Linked DNA regions of Homo sapiens: regions 1 and 3 are each linked to region 2. The links are contacts of gene promoters, found by promoter capture Hi-C in blood cells and fetal thymus (Javierre and others, 2016). All regions are on one chromosome and are shown on one strand. The core of a region is centred on a gene start or on the middle of the fragment in contact, and the rest is flanking DNA. Distances in the headings are between cores, read along the strand shown. Region 1 overlaps TARS1 (threonyl-tRNA synthetase 1). Region 2 holds the start of GOLPH3 (golgi phosphoprotein 3). Region 3 overlaps AMACR (alpha-methylacyl-CoA racemase).

Evidence for each region. Contacts are between HindIII fragments. The CHiCAGO score rates a contact against its expected background, and 5 or more counts as called.
Region 1: a contact is called between a fragment that was not itself captured here and the fragment with the promoter of GOLPH3 in region 2, in 3 of 17 cell types (non-activated CD4 T cells, fetal thymus and total B cells). The highest score is 7.9, in non-activated CD4 T cells.
Region 3: a contact is called between a fragment that was not itself captured here and the fragment with the promoter of GOLPH3 in region 2, in 1 of 17 cell types (non-activated CD4 T cells). The highest score is 8.7, in non-activated CD4 T cells.

What each region holds. Positions count from the first base shown.
Region 1 is chr5:33,442,706-33,447,281 of GRCh38, forward strand. It overlaps TARS1 (threonyl-tRNA synthetase 1), which reads left to right. Exons shown (of 19, transcript NM_152295.5): 2 at 2,619-2,699. Among named protein-coding and RNA genes, the nearest start is that of TARS1, 4.0 kb to the left of the region's middle. The HindIII fragment of the contact is 1,323 bases long and covers 1,980-3,302 here.
Region 2 is chr5:32,170,881-32,175,799 of GRCh38, forward strand. It overlaps GOLPH3 (golgi phosphoprotein 3), which reads right to left and starts at 3,439. Exons shown (of 4, transcript NM_022130.4): 1 at 2,930-3,439. The coding sequence starts at 3,154. RefSeq lists a silencer at 2,723-3,332. The HindIII fragment of the contact is 5,568 bases long and covers 2,446-4,919 here.
Region 3 is chr5:34,002,462-34,006,998 of GRCh38, forward strand. It overlaps AMACR (alpha-methylacyl-CoA racemase), which reads right to left. Exons shown (of 5, transcript NM_014324.6): 2 at 3,295-3,438; 3 at 2,113-2,273. It overlaps C1QTNF3-AMACR (C1QTNF3-AMACR readthrough (NMD candidate)), which reads right to left. Exons shown (of 9, transcript NR_037951.1): 7 at 3,295-3,438. Among named protein-coding and RNA genes, the nearest start is that of AMACR, 3.3 kb to the right of the region's middle. The HindIII fragment of the contact is 2,842 bases long and covers 498-3,339 here.

The DNA of each region.
Region 1 (4,576 bases), core at 1,391-3,890, 1.3 Mb after region 2:
GTGTTAGCCAGGATGGTCTCGATCTCCTGACCTCGTGATCCGCCCGTCTCGGCCTCCCAAAGTTCTTGGATTACAGGCGTGATCCACCGCGCCCGGCCTCATTCAGTCTTCTTAATAACGCTGTGAAGTGGGTTCTGTTATTATCTCCATTATACAGATGAGAAAGCAGGCGTAGGAACAGTAACTTGCTCAAACCCAGTATCCCCGTTTTTTTCCTTCCTCAAACCCAGTATCCTATAGCCAATACTAATAACCCCTGTGCTGTTCTGAGTGAGTCAGGGACAGATCATTCCTGAGAAAGGTAATTCTGTAGCTTCTCTTCACAATCCGGTTCTGTTTCCCAACTTTTGGGTTGAGATTTTAGATTACTTGTATGTAGATGTACATACCATATATACTCAGGGAAATAGAGAACAGTTGCCTACTCTCTTCCCAGTGTTGTAGAAAAGGGGTCATAGGCCTCAGGGTTCCAGAGAGACCTGTTGTAATTTCCCAGCTCTATTACTTAATGATACAAATGGGCAAGTTACTTCTTTGAGCCAGTGTTCTTGTTTGTAAAATGGAGCCGTATTTAGAACCAGAAAACCTTTGTGGTGATTCCCTCTCTCTCTCTCCCTCTCTCTCTCTCTCTCTCTCTCTCTCTCTCTCTCTCTCTCACTACCCCTGTTCATTTGGCAAATGGTCAAAACCAAAATAATCTTATCAGAAATATAAAACTTATTTTATCATCTTTCCATTTTAAACCTGCACAGACCTGCAATTTTTCTTTCTTTTTTTTTTTTTTTTTGTTGTCGTTGTTGTTGTTGAAATGGAGTCTTGCTCTGTCTCCCAGGCTGGAGTGCAGTGGCGCGATCTCTGCTCACTGCAAGCTCCGCCTCCCGGGTTCCAGCCATTCTCCTGCCTCAGCCTCCCGAGTAGCTGGGACTACAGGCACCCGCCACCACGCCCGGCTAATTTTTTTTGTATTTTTTAGTAGAGACGGGGTTTCACCGTGTTAGCCAGGATGGTCTCGATCTCCTGACCTCGTGATCTGCCCGCCTCGGCCTCCCAAAGTGCTGGGATTACAGGCATGAGCCACCGCGCCCAGCCGCAATTTTTCTTTTTACCCAGTATACTTGATCAGTTACATCACTTCTGCAGTATAACAAAGGCTCTATTGAATCTAAATGAACCTTTAAAGTTTATTAAATCCAGACTTCTGGAGTAGGGGGGATTTTAGCTCAGCATGAAATTAGGAGTCATATTTTAAAATTAGTTTTTTTTTTAATTATACAAGTAACGCATTTTATAGGATTTAAAAGACAATGGCCAAAATGTCCATCAACTGATAAATGGATAAGTAAGCAATGGAATATTATTTGATAATAAAAAGGTACAATGACAAGTATTGATGCATGTTACAACCTGATGATCTTGAAATTATTATGCTAACTAAAAGAAGCCTGTCACAAAAGACCACATAATGTGTGATTCTATTTATATGAAATTCCCAGAATAGGCAAATCTATAGAAACAGAAACTAGGTTAATGGTTGCCAGGGTCTGGAGATGAAGGCAACAGGGAGTAAACTGCTAATGGGTACAAGGTTTCTTTTTGAGGGTGATGAAAATACTCTAAAATTGATGGTAGTGATAGTTGCAAAACAGTGAATACCTAAAAACCATTGAATTGTGTACTTTACATGGGTAACTTGTATGGTATATGAATTGTATCTTAAAACTTAAGAAAACTAAAGGTCACAAACATGCAAACTAATTAAAATCCCTGTTTACATTCCTGGCACAGGATTTATTACTTTAAAACTTTCTATGACTTCACTTGCTTCTAATTGAAGTCTGTATTCCTTATGGTAACTTTTAGTTCTTGCTTCTGTGAGCCTTAGTCTGTCTTACCTTGTATTACTTTCTAAAACAATCCTTCATTAATCAGCCTGGTTTAGTCATTTTTTCTCTCTTTAAATTTTAACATTTCTGACAACAAGCTTATGTGTACACATAGGACACATTTCCTGTATTCTCAGAATCCACCTGTTGAAATGCATTCCATCCTTTAAAACGCTAGTCCTAGCTTATTTGACATCTAATCGTAGCGTTACTACTGTGTTTTCTCCTCCGGGAGTTTCTCACACATGTATGCCTTACTTTCCCTGGAGAGACTAGGTTTACACATGGTAGGGATTGGGCCTTATGTTTGCTTCTTCCATGGCTTTTGTTAGCACTGGTGGAATTCATGGGCACACTTTGCATTCAGTTTTTTTTTTTTTCCCCTGGAAATATGCTTACTGAATCAACTGCGTGCTTCCTTGTGGCCATATGTTTGGTATGTGGTCCAAGTAAACCTGAAGCGAGAGTCACAAGAATAGTTAAAATAAAATAAATGAAATTTGAGGAGTTAAACATCGTTAGTAACTCCTTCCTACTTTTTAAAGACTTGCCTTTATTGTAAGTTGTTAACCTGTCTTTGCCAGTGATGAAATTGTTCAGTCTTTCAATATCAGATTTCCATTTTTTTTAAATTAAATAACAAATACTAAAATAACATTCTCAACACTTCCTGGGGCATCACAGGATGGAGGTGTCACATTAGATTAAAATATAAAACGTTTTTTGCTTATTTAGATTGGTGCTGGTGAAGAGAAGCAAAAGGAAGGAGGCAAAAAGAAGAACAAAGAAGGATCTGGAGATGGAGGTCGAGCTGAGGTAAAAGTTATCATCACAGAGGGCTCTGTTATCAGAGGTTGGCAAATCGCAGGGAACTTTCTGAGACTTTCCTAATGTGTAAGGGTTCTAATGGTTTACATGGTAGTGTAAGATGGTACTGGTTGGAAAAATCAGGAAGAAGAATTAGGAAAGGGTAATCTGAGAGGGGAAAAAAGACTTTCAGTTGTTACTGTAAAAGGAAGCAACTGGCGTATGATTGTATAAGATGATCTGATTGTAGGGTTGAATATAAAAATCAGAGAACAAAAGTTGAAGAGGAGACTGGTAATTATTCAGTTGCCAGATGTGATGCCAGCTCTGACATTTCATTAAATGAGATGTTAGGGAATAGAGACTTGGTGTTTGGGCTTACACTGAATACAATGAAAACCAAAGAAAGCCAGTTTTTTGACCCCCTCCTTGCCCTTTCCATCTGGACCTGCCCTAGGGTTGGCTTCTAAGCCAGGACAGATCCCCTTAAGGCCTCTCAAGTCTGCAGAAAATGCTTTCACTTCTCCAGGCTCACACTGAAAGGAACTGGCATATCAAAAGCCAGCCCTAAATCAACCTGGTTCCTGAGTATTTTGCTTTTACAGGCAGTTAAGCTTGCCTTTCTACTTTATTTTTACTGCTGTGAACTGTGCTTCACTTTTTGCTTTAGTCATTACAGCTGTTTTATTGGAGACTCTTTAGAAAGCTACCAGAAGGAAGAAGCACAAAGGAACAGCCTTTTTAGAAGTAGCACAGTAAGCTGGCTTTTAAGAGCCACTTTTACAAATGCTGCAATTGCTAAATTTATAGTGCCGTCATTTACTTTAGGGTAAGTTTATAGATGATCAAGTGTAGTGTTGCTTAGAACCCTACCTAACCATTTATCTTACGGCTGATCAGTTGATCAGTCTCCCGACCATTATACCCCCACTGTAATTGTGAAGAAAATTGTTGATTGTGAATTTTAAAATTTGCAAGCCAATGGAAAAATGCATATGTTCCCTAATTTCTTTTTTATACTTTCAATACAAACATACGTGCTGTTCCATCACAGCTTGAGAAATGACCTGGAAATAAGACAAAGAGTATAATTAGAAGACTCTTCTGAACAGAGAATTTTAAGTGGGACATGTGATTATTTATGTTTAACGATTGGTCTGGAAAAAAGAGTGTACAGTGAACTGTCCAAGACCTTGGTCTTCCCCTCCAAGGGCAACTTGCAGGTTTTATTCATCTCTGCAATCACAGAGACTGACACAGAGGGTATCTGCTGAATGAATGTTGAAGAGATTTTGACACGAAATTCTAATTGGGACATTGCAAGTGGCTATGATGATAAACTGCAGTTAAGATACAGAGGGTGGTGCAGGTGGGTAGGATTATAATGATGCTTTAGAGTGGATGGAACTGGGTACTGTGCATTAGTCTGAGGGGTTCAGATTATGGTTGTAGAATGACAGGCTCTGTCTGAGCTTTTAGTTAATTCATGGGTTCTTCACCATTGAAGGTTATGGACCGTTGTGATAATTTGATGAAAAGCTCTCAACAACTGAACGACTAAAGAAAGGGAGGGACTGCTGTGGGTGGGAATTACAAAGATATTAGGGCCTGATACGGTGGTAGGAACCAATCACTTGAGACTGAGTGGGAGAATCACTGGAGCCCAGGAGTTTGGGGCCAAAATGCGCTGTGACTGTGCCTGTGAATAGTCACTGCGCTCCAGCCAGCCTAGGCAACATAGTGAAACCCTGTCGTTAAAGAATGGAAAGAAGGAGGGAGGGAAGGAATTACTGGGCAGACAATTAATCTTTTTCATTTGATATTATTTTCTATTATCTCCAGTCAATTTTGTTTTGTTTTGTTTTGTTTGAGACAAGGTCTCACTC
Region 2 (4,919 bases), core at 2,189-4,688:
ACTCTCTGGACTTGCCTAAAAAAAAAGAGAAAAAATTTCCCCATGTGGTTGCTGAAATCAGGAAGAAATGCTCACAATAAGCTAGCAAGCATCTGGACCTTAGCCATGACTAGCAAAGTATAATGAGTGACTCTTGATGCAAAATAAACAGAACACATGGTTTCAATTACCCGCCAAATAACTTTAAATTGTTTAAATTATGTGAGTATGGTTAAACTTCAACAAATTATTTAGATTATCTTCTTAAGACCCAATCACCGAAAAACAGCATGTTAATATGCTTCACCTTAAACATTTAGAGCAAGGGTGTCCAACCTTTTGGCTTCCCTGGGCCACACTGGAAGAACTGTCTTGGGCCATATATAAAATACACTAACACTAGCAATAGCTGATGAGCTTTAAAAAAAAAAAATTGCAAAAAAAATTTCATAATGTTTTAAGAAAATTTACCAATTTATGTTGGGCCGCATTTAAAGCCATCCTGGGCCACATTTGGCCCGCGGGTTGGAAAAGCTTGATTTAGAGTAACATGTACTTGAAAAAACAAATAGGTATTTCCTCACTATAATTTCTCAGTGTGACTCAGAACACCAAAAGCTTATTTTTTAGTTTTTTTTTTTTCAGGTTTTTGTTTTCCACCGAGTTTTATCCACACGGAAAACTCTCAAAAACTATAAACCAAAATGTTCACTCAGGAATATGTTTTAATTTTGCTTTTCTTTTTTTTTGTATTTTCTAAAATGTCTATAATAATGTTATTTTTGTCCAAAAAGAAAAATGTTTATGGCCGGGCGTGGTGGCTCAAACCTGTAATCTCAGCACTTTGGGAGGCCGAGGCAAGTGGATCACTTGAGGTCAGGAGTTCAAAAGCAGCCTGACAAACATGGTGAAACCCCGTCTCTACTAAAAATAAAAACATTAGCAGGGCGTGGTGGTGCATGCCTGTAATCCCAGCTACTTGGGAGGCTGAGGCAGGAGAATCGCTTGAACCCGGGAGGGGGAGGTTGCAGTGAGCCCAGATGGCGCCACTGCACTCCAGGCCTGGGCGACAGAGCGAGATTCCGTCTAAAAAAAGAAAAAAAAAAAGACAAATGTTTATAATCAAGATTTCCAATTTTGAAACCTAAAGTTGAATATTTTCTAAAAATTACATTACTAGGACGCTATACCCCTAGTTTACTTTTTCATCCAAAGAACAAGGAACTGCACATACAGCCTGCTTTATCATCACAACTCAATAATTAAACAGGTACAGCAGCCCTTTCACAGCCAGAGGAACATCAACTTTTTTCAAGGTTACTGTTATTAAAACCTGAGAAATGGGAAACCAAGATATGGCAAATGCCCCAGACGTATCTATCAAGCTAACCGTTAGTTCATTAGATTTCTAAATAAGAAAGGTCCATAAACGGTCCATATAAAACTCGCCTATATCTAGTAAGTTTCAGTGACCAAGAAAGATTACGTTGTTTTGTAAGACTTTTTTTTTTTTTTTGCCCACCTTCCTGAATTTGGAAAACTTTCTTAAAATCAGGCCTGGGCGCGGTGGCTCAAGCTTGTAATTTCAGCACTTTGGGAGGCCGAGGCAGGCGGATCACTAGGTCAAGAGATCGAGACCATCCTGGCCAACATGGTGAAACCCCGTCTCTACTAAAGGTATGAAAATTAGCTGGGCATGGCGGCGCACGTCTGTAGTCCCGGCTACTCGGGAGGCTGAGGCAGGAAAATCGCTTGAACCCGGGAGGCGGAGTTTGCAGTGAGTGGAGATCGCGCCACTGCACTCCAGCCTGGGCGACAAACTGAGGCTCCGTCTCAAAAACAAAACAAAACAAAAACACAAAATTAGCCGGGCATGGTGGCGCATGCCTGCCTCAGGAGGCTGAGGCAGGAGAATCGCTTGAACCCGGGAGGCGGAGATTTCGGTAAGCCGAGATCGCGGCATTGCACTCCAGCCTGGGCAACAAGAGCGAAACTCCGTCTCCACATAAATAAATAATCATTTTTGTAGGCAAATATAACAAATACAGCAAAACGTCATAGAATCTAGAAAGAGTATATATGCATATGTATCTATCACTTTTTCAACTTTTCTGTGTGTGAAAATTTTGGACACTGAAGTGAAAATAAACGCTTTCAAAGTCAGAATACAAAGAATTATCTATTGCAACTTCAACCCACCTGAAGCTTTGAGGCCTCTGATCAACTCACAAACCTACATTTCAAGCACTCGATGAAAAAGCCCTTTCTTAAGACGGCAAGACTTTGAGATTCATCAACTGATAAAATATAAAAGCGATACTAAAAATAATCTCTCACCTAATGTAAGTTCACCTAGAAAGTCATTTACCAGGAGGTTTCATGAGAAACTTAACTTAACTTTACTCAGTAAAAGAGCTTTTCCCTCTATTACCACTTCGCCTACGTTTTTCGTAATTCCCAACAGTAAGCTTTAACTGAAGAAGAAGAAAAAAAAAACATCCCCAGCAAGCAGATCCGGGCACCCCTCCCAGGTCCTAAAGCCTGCAAAAACCCAAAGAGTTCGTGGCGCTGGTGGCTCCAGCTGTTAGTTTCCCGGGCAGTCTCCGGGTTGGATTTGCACCCTGGGGTCTACACGGGTTAAAAACGCGGAAAAAAGGCGACGAAGAAATACAAACTGCCAGGGTGTCGAAATGAAAGGAGCGACTGTGAAAGGGGTAAGGAAAAATCCAAGCCATCTCTACGGGGAGGATCCAGAAAGCACCAGCCGCGCCAGGGGGTCAACCAACTCCGACACCGCTCGGCGTCAGCTGGGCGCCACCAGGCGCGGACTTCGGAGCGAGGGCAGGTGCGCGGGCCGGAAGCCTCGGGCGCTCACCTGGCACCTACCTGGAGCTCACCTGGCGCCCGGGCCCCGCGCCGCCGCCCCCCGCCCAGCCCGCCGCGCCCGCACCTCGCGGTCCTTGAGGCCCAGCAGGAGCACTTCCTCCATCAGGGTCAGCCGCGTTTCCTTGGAGTCGCCCTTGTCGTCGTCGTCCTGCTCGTCGCGGCGGCTCTGCGCGTCGTCCTCGCTGCTGCCGGCGCCGCCGCCCGCCGCCCGCTCCTTGTCGGCGGCGTTGCGGGAGGCCTCGGTGCGCCGCTGCACCAGGCCGGAGCTGCGCTGGGTCAGCGAGGTCATGGCTCCCGCCGAGGCGCCGAGCCGGGCCGAGAGGGTCGCAGGACCGACCGGGTCGCCCTCCTCCTCCCCGCGCGGCCTCCGATCCGGGTTTCCGTGTTAAATCCGGACGCCGGGGCGACGTCCGTCGGCAGCAGGGCCGGGGGCAGTCATGAGGAAACAGGTCAGGGCGAAGCGGGCTGGCCGGGCGTCGGCGGGGCAGGAGAGGAGCGCCTTCCTGCCTGTGGCCGCAGTCCCCGAAACACCCCGAGCTCCAAGGCGGAGGCGGCGGCGGCGCCTTTCCAATATGGCGGCCCCGGCTGACGTCACCGGAGGATGTGGCAGAGTCGGCGCGGGAGAGCTGGGCCGGGAGGCGCCGGAAGCGGCGGCCGGGGATCCGCTGCCACTGCAGCCTACACCCTTCCCGGCCCTCGGTGCTTGTCTTTTCTTTGGCGTTCCTGCGCCCCCTGACCCGCGGTCCTGCAGTCCTGCTCCCGTGACGTGCCCTCCCTCCTTCCGTTCCCCGTTTCCCCTTCACTACCCAGGGCTGGAGCCTGAACCTGGCGGGGCCCCCCGTGAATGGAAGAGCCTGGGCCACGCGAAGGTGGACCCCACTCAGCCTCCAGCCGTGCCCTCCACGCCCCAGACACCGCCGTCTTCGGAGGCGACTCCGCGGTCGTGTGGACGGGGTCCCATTTGGACTCCGGGGTCTGCAGGATCGGCAGGAAGGACTTTGCTCTCTGCTGCTGGGCGGGGAGGGGTACGCTATCTGCCGGGACTCCCTAACCCTTTAGAAGGAGCAAGTGCGTCCAAATGGTTTGAAAGTGGACCTTTATTGTTTTCCAGGAGTAAGAAGATAGAACAGTTGACCAGTTTTGTTTGTAAAACTTCTTTCCTTGCCTCGGACTTGTGCTATAAAGTGACCAGGGCGTAGTGAGTACAGTTAGTACCGCACACGTTAGCACGCTCGACCTTAACGATCTTTTTATAGAGACAATAAACCTGCAGCGTTTCATGCCACGTCTTTGTACGCATCGGATGTCTCTCCGTGTAGTTACTAGGTGAAATCCTCTTGGCGTGCGCAAATTAGGTTAAAAAAATAGCTGTCAAACCTGAGACAGGAGTTGGAGGAGTAGAGGGTGGCGCTTGTTAAGTGAAACATTTAACCAGGAATGGTATTGTGTGCCATCCTGTATTAAACAATGTATGGACAGAGTGGAACAACAGCAAAGCAAAAAATAAAAATTTTTTAAAAAAAGTGATCATGGGCTGTGGCTAAAGAGTGCTTTAGATGGATTCTTCTCTTCCACAAATCCATTATCCAGAACTGCTGCTGCCTACCATCCCATGCCCTGGAAAGTGACAGTGCTAAATGAAGGGAAGAGAGGGTCCAGGGGGCACACCAAGTAGACCTTCCCTTTTTCCCACCTGTCTTGGTGAAGGTCGATTTCACCTCAACCAATTTCTCCCATTCACACCCTCTTTTTTTTTTTTTTTTTTTTTTTTTTGAGACGGAGTCTTGCTCTGTTGCCCAGGCTGGGGTGCAGTGGCACAATCTCGGCTCACTGCAAGCTCTGCCTCCCGGGTTCACGCCATTCTCCTGCCTCAGCCTCCTGAGTAGCTGGACTACAGGCGCCCGCCACCACGCCTGGCTAATTTTTTGTATTTTTAGTGGAGACGGGGTTTCACCGTGTTAGCCAGGATGGTCTCGATCACCTGACCTCGTGATCCGCCGGCCTTGGCCTCCCAAAGTGCTGGGATTACAGGCGTGAGCCACCGCGCCAGCCCA
Region 3 (4,537 bases), core at 669-3,168, 1.8 Mb after region 2:
CAAGACTCCATGTTTGCTCTTAGTTCATTCCTTTTGGACCCCAGGGACCATGCTCTTGGGGCAGCAGGGGAAGTTGTTGAAAGCAGTGGCTTTAGGGTCCAACTGCCTGGGGCAGTGCTTCGGACCCTTTCCCGTCATCTGCTTTAGAGGAAGGCAGTTAACCTCGCCAAGCCTTCAAGTCTTCAATGCCAATGATAGTAGCACGTCTCCCTCAGGGAACTGTGTGGATCACAGAAGCCCTGTGGAAGGTACCGGTCTTGAGTTTGGCGGGTACTGGTATAAATCCGGTGCTGCTATCTCATGCAGCGACTATGCCATGAGTACGCCAAGAGCTGGCCCACAAAAGATAAACCACACTCCCCTGCTGCTGGTACACACTTCAGAGAGGGCACACTGGAAAGTGTGAGATGTGCCCTGATGACAGTGTCCCACAGGCACACACTCAGTACAGGGCTGGTCATGATTCACCATGAACAGGAGAAGGAAGCGCAGGCTGAAGCTTTGGAGATGAGGGGGTTTCTGGTAGAAAATGGATTTTGTGAAGATCAGCCAGGACCCAATCCAGTTGACACTCTCAGTCTCTAAACTCTTGAGGTATCCACCAACATTTGACCCTCTGACCACTCCTTTCTTTGGTTTCCATGACAACACTCCATTCTGCTTCTCTCCTTAGCTGTCCTCAGCCCTTGCTTCTCTTTTCTGCCCACGCATTCCTTAAATGCCGGTGTTCTATCCCCTTTCCTAGTGGATCACATAGTCTCATATGGCTCCCAAATAACTCCGAAATCTGTTTCTAGTCCCTAACCTCAAGTATCCCACCTGGATATCTGAAAGGCACTTTAAAACTGAAAAGACCAAAACTGAGTTCCTTTTCTTCTAGTAAAAATAACCACAATGACAAACTTTTACAGAGGGCCCACTGTACGCCAGGCACTGTTCCCACACTGAACAATGGATGAACTCATTGAATTCTCATAGCAACTAACAATGCTATGAGGTGGATGTCATTATTATCTCCATTTTACAAAGGAAACTACAGCACAGAGAGGTTAAGTAACTTGCCCAAGATCACAGAGCTAGTAAATGGCAGAGCTGGGACGGAGGTAGTCAGCTGCCACTCTATGCTCTGACCACTGTGTTCAGCAGTCTTCCCTCAAGACACTAGCAGGTCATCTAAGCCAGAAACCTGGGAGCCAGCCTCAACTTCTCCCTCTTCGCTCCCTGTCAGTCCATTATCAATTCCCAGCAATTTTATACCTCAAATGTCCCTTCAATGCAAACCAACTCTACCATTAACTGCTTTAGTACTTGCCCTGATCTCTTCAGCAATAACCCAGTCATTGGTCTCTGTACCTCCAGTCTTGTCTCCTCAGATCCATTCTCCATCCCACCTCCAAATGTCTGTGAAAATGCAAACACGCAGTGGTGGTGCTGGAGTGGGCTCTCTTACCCACTAGCTGTGAGATCTTGAGCAAATGGCAATGCTTCCGTTCCCTCCTCTTTAAAACAACAAGGTATTCCAAATGCAGTTTTGAGAATAAGAAGAAATCACACAGGGAATGTGCTCAGCAGAACATGAGGCAAGCACTCAGTGGATGACAGTGAACAAACAGAAGTGTTATGATATCAGAGCATCCCCTATAAAACGCAGCAGGAAGGTTTAGACAGGGAGGTCCATTTGACCTTAGCATTCCTAAGAATTTTCTCTACCAGCTGAGGGAGACTTCTTGAACTTTTTTTGAATGACGACTGCTTGAAAATGATATACTAAGCACAAGAGATACTTGGGGAAAATTGTTGAAATATTTAGGTTGGCAAATATTTGGCAAAACCTGCAATTACTTTTGCACCAACCTAAAACAACGTAGGAATCACATGAGTCACAGAAAGTTCAGAGAACTGACTCCAAGGACAGATGATCAAAATATGACATTCTAACAGATATATAAAAGACATAAGTCTATTTTAAAAAGAAAAGGATATCCTTGGTAACCTGGCTTGAAACTTCAAATGTCATTTATCTCTTGTCTTCTTCTTCAAAAAAAGGATTTTAAGCAGCTATATCTTAAACTTAGGGACAAGTGGCAGGCATCTACCCCAATTAATACTTACCATATTTGCATCAATGACCTGACCCTTGCCAGTGCGTGTGCGGTCAAAAAGAGCCATTATAATGCCCAGTGCACACATAAGGCCACCACCAGCAAAGTCAGCCAGGAGATTCAGCGGGGCATACGGATTCTCACCACTTCTGCCAATTTTTGAGAGAACACCTACATCATTAAAAACAAATTTAATGTCTCTTTTAAATTTAATCTCTTCTTAAAATAAATATGTGAGCATCTTAGAGGAATAATCAATCTCTCCAGCAGATAATCTAAGTGAAAGCTAGTATACATCACTTTTCCAAATCTGAGCTTAGTCAGTAAACTCATAAACAGGCTTTCCCTCAAGACAGGATCCTTGTTTTGTTGTTTTCCTCTCTAAAACCTATTCCAACCAACATTTTCAAATATTGCTAAGTTTTTACTCACTTACTTTTGGAAAAGAAAATGATTATTTATTTTGTGGTTTTAAAACAGTAAATGCACTTTCATTCTTAGCATAAAGAAATGTAAGAAAATACTTGCAGACAAGAAAAAAAAGGAATTTAATTTTTAAGTAGATGTGAAGAGACAATTCTATACCCACTTCTTTCCTCAACTTTTAAATGTGTACTCACAGAAAATCTGAAATGTCCTATAGTCAACAACACATGGTTCTTAGAATTCTGGAATCAGGCCTATCTCACATGTCGTCACAGGCAAAAACTCTAATAAAGTGATATTAGGACCTGAAAACCATGGGCTTTTTTTAGTGCTCATAGAAGTCTGAAACAATGACTCAGGCAATGATTCTCAATATGGTGGGTGGAGATTTCGGGGTCCGGGGGAGAAGTAGCTGTCAGAATCTAACTATGTCAACATTTTCAAACCACAGAGCAACCATCCGTAGTACCCAGTAAGCCTCTTAATTCCTAGCAGGGGTTTGTCTGAGAATTGACTCAACAAATGTAGTAAATAAATGATAGTAGTGGGCATGTATTAACCTTCCAACCTGTTAAGGGATGGGGTGAGGGAAGGTTGAGAATGATTGTTTCAAGACTCAAACCGATCCATTTTGAACACCCATGCTCTCTTGATTGATTCTGATAAATGTTTAAATTTTTACCTTTACAAATTATTGTTAATCAACATACCTGTAGATCTTGATGGAATAAATTAAAAGTGTAGACTAAATTTTTTTTCAACATACCTGACAAAGCCAAATAGTTGATATCGTGGCCAGCTAACCGGCAGAAGCTTCCTGACTGGCCAAATCCACTCAGCCTGGCATAAATAAGCCTTGGATTTTCCCGCTGCAGAATCTCTGGGCCCAGCTGGAGTTTCTCCATGACACCTTAAGAGAAAAGTAACGATCTTCTTAAGAGAGTATGAATTGAGGATGGAGATAATCCCTTCTCTGAGACAAACATAAAATAGCACCATTGCAAGTAATATTAATAACATTTGCTGTAGGCTAATGGCATGTTTACAGCAGTTAAGGACTCAAAGAGTGAAGCCACCATTTCTGGAATGTGTGGCTTCTTCCCAGGATGTAATTTCTCCCAGTACATCTCTGTTTCCCTCTAGGTTTATCCAAGCCTATTTATTCAATCCCCAGAGCAGGGTCTCATCCCTTTAGTAAATCCCTTTTCTCTTTTTCTATACCGCATCAGTGTTTACCACATCCCACCTTAGCTGCACTTGCTTGTACATGCATACACTTATCTTCCCTATCAGCTCATGAGCTCCTCCTGCAGAATTTACACCTGATGTTTCCACAGGCGCTAAAGTGCCTAGCATCAGTACCTTCACGAAAAAGTTTAGCACCCATCTGTAGAAAGAGTGGTTAGTGACAATAGCACCTGAGAGTTTTTAAGCTATCAACAAGTATAGTATTTATAGCACAAACCCCAGGTAACCAGCACCTGAAATTTCCTGGGATTAAAAGTAATCAAAATTACATAATAAACTCACTATCTTTACCTTCCTAAGGCTAAAATAAATCACAGAAAACCTCTAGTCATCTACCTAAACACCAGTCACAACTCCTCACCCGGAGGCTATATCCGTATTCCCAGCCGACCTTCCTCCTAATTACAAGACCTTGGACAAGCCTCCCTCATCTTAAATGGAGCATTCTTAAATTATTACATAATCTTAATTATTAAATCATTATTGTTACAAGCCTCAAATACAGCTGTGAGGGTTAAATGAGTTAACGCATTTAAATAAGCCGGCTGTGCCGTAGGCATTCATTCATTCACCATTTACCGATTTCCCACTATAGACCAGGCAATGCTTTGGATTTCTACTTGAACAAAGTTATTCTGGCAGCTGTCTGAGAATCCACTGGAGTGATACCAGCCCCAAACACCAGTTTTTAAAAGGCTGTCACACCAGTGTCAAGGCAGTTGCAGCAGGTATGGAGAGAAATAGTCCGAGTGGGCTAAGGA